Linked DNA regions of Homo sapiens: region 2 is linked to region 1. The links are contacts of gene promoters, found by promoter capture Hi-C in human tissues and cell types (Jung and others, 2019). All regions are on one chromosome and are shown on one strand. Each heading gives the region's core, a stretch centred on a gene start or on the middle of the fragment in contact. The rest is flanking DNA. Distances are from core to core; before and after follow the strand shown.

Region 1 (4,076 bases), core at 621-3,120:
CTGAGTCTCCGGTTCCTCTTCTGTAAAGAAAGGAAAATGAAAGAATTTTACTCTGAGAAGAAGGGCGTTAAATAAGGTAATACACAGAAACTGCCTCTCAGCACATTATCAATGCGCTCAGTGAAGACCAGCTACTATTTGTTGCTGTTAGTATTTTTCCTATTTGCTCCTGTCGCACCCTAGGAGAGCTCAATGCAGCACACATCCAGGAGCAGCCTTGCAGAGATCTGGCGACAATGTGACAGAGAAAATCGTCCAATGAGCTTGGCATGTGCAGGAGAGAAGAATGGCAGGGGGAGTGTCCTGGTGGATTGGGCAGTGACTTTGCAGCCATGGTGGGGTATGGGGTGGGGTTGGGTTAGATGAAATCTAAGTAGGATGGGAGCCCCAGAGGATAGAATCTCATTCATTAATCACTTATCGACTAAGTGGTACAGGCCCAGAACAGAATAGTTTTGGGCCTGGGGATGAAAAACAGAACAGAAGCTGACATTCTGGGGTTGGGGGACAGATCCTCAGCAATAAACAATCAAGATAAAGTCAGAAGACTCTAGAAAACAACACAAGAGTGAGAAGACCACAAAGACTGGGAGAGACTTTACATGATGCAACCAGGGAAGCTCTCTCTGAAGAGACCCTGGAACAAGGTTAGATTGAAGTTAGAGAACAGACCAGGTGAGGAAAAATGAATAGACAACTCCTGAAGGTGATCAGAGCTACGAGGAGTAAACAGTGTGACATGCTGGAGAGTAACTTGGGGCCTTATGTGCTCACACTCCAAGAGACATACATTCATGTACACTGTCATTAATGAATATTGTGCTGGATTTGCTTTTCAAATACAAGAGCATGTGTTAAACAGAAGCACGGATTCACTGCTGTTAGGCGGCAAGCCAGATTCATTTGTAATAAACAGACGGCATCTGCAAAGATAAATCCAATGAGCTTCTTGTCTTCTAGCCTCCTGCCAAAAATGCTGCTCCCGCCTCACCTCTTGCCCTCGAGGCTCTCATTCCCTCTCCCAGCTTTTGGTAGGGCCAGACTTCCGCTGGAATGATCCCCTAAAACAACAGCAGGACCTAGAGAGTCCTTCTTCAAAGACGGCACCTAGAGTGATGCTCTCCGAGCAGTGAAAGACAGGACCCACGTCACAAGCGTACCCTCTCCAGCTCCCTCCACAGAGAAAATTACTGAGACTCGCATTTTAGACCCGAGGGAATGGAGGCCGAGGGCAGCGAGGCGACAGCTCCAGGTTAGAGCCAGAGACAGGGACCTCTCCTTACAACTCCTGTCCTGGATTCAGGACCCTGGGTAGGAAGTGATTAGCCCTGCCCTCTCACCTCACCCTCTCCCGGGATCTCCATAACCTAGGGCATCAAAAGGGAGAAGCACAGAGTCCCGGCATCCGCCGTATTACAGCGGATGGGTGCATGCGGGCGGTGACCCGAGCTCGCGCGGGCTGCGGAACCCTCCACTCACCAACGCCGGCGCCGCCATGGGCCCAGGGGGCTGGGTGAGGCCGTGAGAGTCGGCGAGGAAGCCGGTCCTGCGGGCTCGGCCGACCCCGGGCTCCGGCTCTGGGCTGCGAGGGACCTCAGTCCCCGCCGTCGTGTAAAATGCACACAAGGTTCGCGGCGCCGCCTCTGCGCGCCGTGAGGACACAGGGCTGTCGCCAAGGCCCCAGGAAGGGTTTTGCAGACGCTTGTGGGGGTGGGATCGCGGCTGACATAAAAGCGTGTAAGTGGGTCCTATCCTCCTCACTGTCCGTCTCTACTCGGTCTCGAAAAGTGGCCCCTGTCTGGCGTTCTACCCAGTGTAGCGTTGGCAACCACAGCAGCCGCAACCTAACGGCGGACGAAGACTGGACGCCGGAAGTCCCGCCCACGCCGCTACGGGAACGCCCCTCTGCGCCTTCCGTCTATGGCTTGGGGTCGGCTTCCGTCCCTTGTAGCACTGCCTTCTGGGTAATGTAGTTTGACGGAATCCGGGTGGTACCTGGAGCGCACTTTCTGTTCTCGGTGAGGCGGCTTCTCAAGGCTCCCAAGAAAGGGATTGGCTTCACCTCTTCTTAAAGGAGAGGCACACAGAGTTCCGTGGAAATTATCTGAGGCAATGACCCACTCTCAAATGTCTCTACCAGGCAACTCACGCCTTGACTTTCCTCCCTGTGTATCCCTGCGCCAGCAGTTCATCTCTCTGAGCCTTGAGATGGAGATTCCTAAGGAAAATGAAGATAATTATTTAATATGATAATATTAAAATTTCCCCTATCAGTAATTTTCAGATGACATCAGCATTACCTGCGAATTTGTTACCAATGCAAGTTCTTAGTCCCCACCCACTGAATCAGGTACTCTGGGGGGTGGGACCCAGCCCTCTGCTTAACTTGTCCAGGAAAAGTGGATGCTGCAAAACATTTGAGAACCAGACTCTTTAAATTCCAGTAAATAAATGAGACAAAGCCACCTGTTTGGTGGGAAGTAACTAAGAATTGCTTAGCACTGGGCCTGGAACATACCGATAAGAACATAAGAGCTATTGCTGTCATTATTAATATTCTGTATTATTGGCAACATCATCACAATACACTGCTAGGGGAGGGTCTGAGATACTTCTTTGCAGACTCTGATATTTGTCAAAACAAATACGTTGACTGATTCAACAGGAGCCTCATGAATACTGTTTAAATTTTACATAATAATACGTTGCAGCATTTGGCGTATGCATCTTTTTAAAACGGTATATGCAGGAGGGTTTCCTAATATACAGGTAGACCTATTGCCCAAGGGATACTTTCTTACATGATTCAAAACTTAGGATCACTGAGACTAATTACCTGCAGCCCTAAGGGAAGAGTGGAGTTGACATGGTTTCTAGTTTGTGATGTAAGATGGCGTGTCACTGTTCATCTCTAATTCACAGCAACCAGGATCTGACCCCTCCCCATCTGCCCCTCCAGCCCCCAGGGAAGCCAGAACCAGGCACAAACCAGATGGCCCAGCTTATGCCCAGCAACTCAGGGTCACCAGATCTTGTCTCATCAAGACACTTTCAGCCCACCACCCAAACCTGTAGCCCACATGAAGAGGGCAATAATCCTGGACACTGTGAAAAGTAAAAGCATTACATCCAAAGAGGCATCCCCAGGATGGAGCAGAAATAAGAAAACATAATGAAGACACAATTTTGCAATCACTTCTGCCTATATTCCATGGCCTACAAACCACTCAAATAGCTCCACATGTAAGAGAAGCCAGGATGTGCTGTCCTCCAGAGCATCCAGAAAGAGATAATGGGACTGATAAGTCCTTGGCCATTTTCTAGTAAAATCTATTAATTTAGTCATCAGATTTCCATTCTATTATTTATCCTATACATTCTACACTCTCACATGCTTCTTAATGCGAGAAGCCAAAATCTGCATGCAGTCTCTGACCTCATCTGAATGTTAAGATCTCAGGGTGATATGTTATGCATCTAGTCCAGATTTTGGGTGGGGATGCAGCCAAACCATATAATATTATGGGGCCTGTTGGGAGGTGACTGGATCGTGAGGGTAGATTTCTCATGAATGATTTGATGCCATCCCCTTGGTGCTATTCTTGAGATAATGAGTTTTCTCAAGATCTGACTGTTTAAAAGTGTGTGGCATCTTCCCCTCACTCTCTCTTGCTCCTGCTCTCACCATGTGCTACACTGGCTCCCCCTTTGCCTTGCACCATGATTGGAAGCTTCCTGAGGCCTCACCAGAAATTGAGCAGATGCTAGTGCTATGCTTCCTGTACAGCCTGCAGAACTGTGAGCCAAGTAAACCTCTTTTCTTTGTAAATTACCCAGTCTGGGGTATTCCTTCGTAAATTACCCAGTCTCAGGTTTTCCTTTACAGCAAAGCAAGAACAACCTAACACATTTACCAACTTATGAATGGATAAACAAAATGTGATATATCCTTATAACAGATTATTCAGCCATAAGAAAAGACTGCAGTGCTGATATACAATACAGCATGGAGGAACACTGAAAACATGTAAGTGAAAAAATCAGCTACAAAATAACCACACAGTATATAATTCCAT
Region 2 (4,076 bases), core at 990-3,489, 48 kb after region 1:
CTGGGAGATGTGGCTGCTGTGTTCAGCAAGTGCAGATCATGGACAAACAGACATACCATCAGGGGGCATTTGTCCATTATCCACAAAGTATGAGGAATCGTGAAAGGATAAGCAAAGAAGTTACATGATATATGTAGATTTTAGAAACACTCTATGCCTCCCTGAAAGGAAGAATTAAATAGATGCCAGAATAGAAGCAGATAGGCTTAGGAAATTTTTTTGCAGTGATCCAATGCAAAAATGAGCCACTGAGCTCCCAGTCTAGAGGAACTGACAGTGGGATGGTTGAAGAGGTAAGGGAAGAGGCAAGGGGAAGTAGGCGATGCCAACAAGACCAGGGCTATTTTAGCCATCTGGTTTAGATAAACGGACATGAGTTGTTTTGGAAAACATACATTAAGTTAACTTTCTAATAGTCTGACATGGCTATGGAAGACGTAGGTGATATTCATAAAGCCATTCATTTACCCATTTAGTCATCAGTTGGGCATATATATTATTATTTGAGACAAAATGAGTAGTCTAAGGAATACTTTAGGTAATAGCATCAATTTTTTAAAAACAAGGATAAAAATCTTATGAAACCTAATTCTAGTTGGAGAAAATAAAATAAACAACAAATGTAATAAATTAGTAAATTATTTGATAGGTTCCAGTAACAACTGCAGGGAGACGAAGGGCAGCCAACGTAGGATTGAGTTTAGGGCTAGAGAGAAGTGTGAGTTTCTATTTAAATAGACTGGAAATGGTAAACCTCATTGGGAAGGTGGAATCTGAGCAAAGTCTAGAAGGCAACAATTAAGCAAACCACACAGTTATCTGAGGGAAAGGCATTCCAATTAGTTGGACTAGCCACTGTAAAGGCTCAGAGGAAGGATGTCTCTTGCCCGCAGGGAGCAGTGAGCAACTCAATAGGGGACCAGGATGAAGTTGGCACTTTGCAGAGTGGGAAGAAGGGGGAATAGAGATGGAGAGGGATGAAGAGACTAAGTGGGGCCTTGGAGGATGTGATAAGAACATTGCCTTTTACTCACAGATGGAAATCATGGAGGGTTTGGAGCAAAGGATGACGTGATCTGACTGAGGCTTAATAGGATCATTCTGGTTTCTGGGGATGAGAGACCATTTAGGTGGCTATGGTCATAATCATGAAAGCTTGGACACAGTGGTGGTGGTGCAGGTGATGAGAAGTAAAATTTGTAGATATTTTGAAGCATTTTCTGTTGGCCTGAATGGCAGGAGTATGTGTGGAAAAGGAAGAAGGAATCCATAGACTTGCTATTTGAGTTTAGAAAAGGTTTTGGCCTCATCAAGGTATACTCGGTCACTGGGCGTGTGAAAAAAGATGGCCGAGGGAGAATTCCTAGAAGGGGAAAATAGGGAGGGAGGACATGGGAGGATAACAGACTCCTAAATACATGTGGTTGAGTTCATTGGTTGTGCATATGGAAATTACCCCTACCTCAAACCATCACACAAATGATGAATTTAAGATATCAGATAACAAAAAACATGAAAAAAACTAAATCCAGGTACATCATAATCAAACTGCTTAGTCTCTAGGAGAAAATCAAAAGACATCCCAAGAAAAAGCACACATTATGTGTTCCAGTAGAACACATGCATTGTTCTAATGAGAAACAAAGAAAAAGTAAGATGTAGCTACAGACGAATGAACAAAACTTGAATATATTATTTTCAAAAGTTCCCCCGAAACAGAATATGGCACACCTCTCATTGGAAATACACAAGCTAGAACTCAATGAGTTAGCATTTTTTAAAACTCGAAAGAAAAAAATACTGTGAACCTATACCCTGTGAACCTGCCAGAATGTGGAGACACAGGTGCTAAAACTACACCCAGTGAAACTCTTTTAAAAGTGAAGGTACACACACACACACACACAACTCAACCTTTTTATACACGTAAATGCTTATCGCTAGCATACCTTTCATTAAAAAAAAAAAACTAAAGGAAGTCCGGGCAAGATAAAAATAGTGCAAGTTAGAAATCTGGATCTACACAAGCGAATGAGTAGCAATGGAAAAAGTAAATATAAAAATATATGCATATACATACATATGTGTTTGTATGGGGGTGTTTGTGTGTGCATGTCAAACACTTTCTGTAAAAGTAAAATGTATGGCACAATGGCACAAATGATAAGAGAGAAATGGAAGTGTACTGTTCTTATTGTATAGTTCTTATACTATATGTGAAACAATATAATATTACTTGGAGGTAGACTATATATGTTACTCTATATAGTTTATACTATAGTATGTAGTATATCCTATATAATATAAAGAATCACTTTAAAAACACTTAAGAATTATATTTAGTAGGTAAACAAAAGAGATAAAATGGAATCATGAAAATAATCCAAAAGAAGGTATACAAAGAGGAAAAAGAAACAAAGACCAGATGGAACAAACAGGAAGCAACAGCAAAATTGTCAGTGTAAACACAACGACATCTAACCATATTAAATTTAATTGTCTAAATGTATGATTTTAAAGGCAGAGATTGTTAGATTGGATTAAAAATACAAAACTATATGCTATGTATAAAAAAAACACTTGAGGCTGGGAGCAGTGGCTCATGCCTGTAATCCCAGCACTTTGGGAGGCCGAGGCGGGCGGATCATGAGGCCAGGAGATAGAGACCATCCTGGCTAACACGGTGAAACCCCGTCTCTACTAAAAATACAAAAAGTTAGCTGGGCATGGTGGTGGGTGACTGTAGTCCCAGCTACTTGGGAGGCTGAGGCAGCAGAATGGCGTGAACCTGGGAGGCGGAGCTTGCATGAGCCGAGATCGCACCACTGCTCTCCAACCTGGGCGACAGAGCAAGACTCCGTCTCAAAACAAAAGCAAAAACAAAACAAAACAAAACAAAACAAACAAACAAAAAAGACTTGAAACACAAAAACGAATATAACTGAAAGGATAAGGATGGAATAACACCAATGTAAAGAAATCTGGAATAGTTATATCAAATGGAGTAGATTTCAGACAAAGAATGTGATAAGGAATAAAAAGAGTTATTTGATAATGATAAAAGGATTAATTCAACAATAGGTCATAACAATGCTAAATGTTTTTGCACCCAGTACTAGAGCTTCACATTATATGAAACAAGGCTGATAAAACTCAAAAGAGAAGTAGCATATGAGTCAAAGAAATCTCAAGAAAAATTTAAAAAATATTTTGAATGAAATTAAAGTGAAAACTCAACTTAGCAAAATTTGTGGCACACAGAGCATATAGTTCTTAGAAGGAAATTTATAGAAATGGATGCATATATTAGAACAGAAGAAATCTAAAATCAATCTCAACCCTTACCTTAGGAAACTACAAAAAGAAGAGCAATTTAGGTCCAAAGTAAGTGAAATGAAAAATAATTAGAGCAGAAATCAGTGAAATCGAAAACAGGAAAACGATAGAAAAAAATCAATAAAACCAAAATTGACTCTGAAAATATCAATAAAACTGATAAATGTCTAAATAAAATAACCAAGAAAAGGTAGAGAAGACACAAAAAGGAGTATCACTATTGAGTCACAGATATTAAAAGCATAACAAAAATATTAGAATGCCACAAATTTGATAACGTAGATTAAATGGCCAATTCCTTGAAAGACACAGTCTGCCAAAAGGATAGAGAATAGAAATAAGCCTGTATCTATCAAAGTAATTGAATCAACAATCAATAACCTTCCAAAACAGAAAGCACTAGGCCCTGGTGCTTTTACTGGTGAATTCTAAATATTTGAGAAAGAAATTAAGTTCTTTACAAGCAGCTCTAGAAAACCGAGGCAGAGGAAAAACTTCCTAACTCATTCTATGAGAACAGCATTATCCTAGTACCAAAATCAGACAAATCCATTGCAGAAAGGAAAACTACAGATCAATATCTTTCATGAATATAAATGGAAAAAGCCTCAATAAAATATTAACAAATCAAAACAAAAAATGTATAAAAAGAATTATACATTATGACCAAGTGGAATTTATTCCAGGTATGCAAGTCTGATTCAACATTTGAAAATCAATTAATGCAATCTATCATATCA

Evidence for each region. The method cuts DNA at HindIII sites, captures the fragments that hold promoters and counts their contacts. A contact is called where the count stands out against the background at its distance.
Region 2: a contact is called between a fragment that was not itself captured here and the fragment with the promoter of ZNF599 in region 1, in 1 of the 25 tissues and cell types used here (thymus).

What each region holds. Positions count from the first base shown.
Region 1 is chr19:34,771,345-34,775,420 of GRCh38, forward strand. ZNF599 (zinc finger protein 599) reads right to left here and starts at 1,871. Exons shown (of 4, transcript NM_001007248.3): 1 at 1,480-1,871. The coding sequence starts at 1,497. LOC124904696 (a long non-coding RNA gene) reads left to right here and starts at 2,003. Exons shown (of 2, transcript XR_007067234.1): 1 at 2,003-2,350; 2 at 2,923-3,345. RefSeq lists a silencer at 1,522-1,581 and an enhancer at 1,692-1,801. The HindIII fragment of the contact is 7,437 bases long and covers 1-4,076 here.
Region 2 is chr19:34,819,214-34,823,289 of GRCh38, forward strand. The region is part of intron 4 of LINC01801 (long intergenic non-protein coding RNA 1801); the gene reads right to left. Among named protein-coding and RNA genes, the nearest start is that of LINC01801, 12 kb to the right of the region's middle. The HindIII fragment of the contact is 4,964 bases long and covers 1-4,076 here.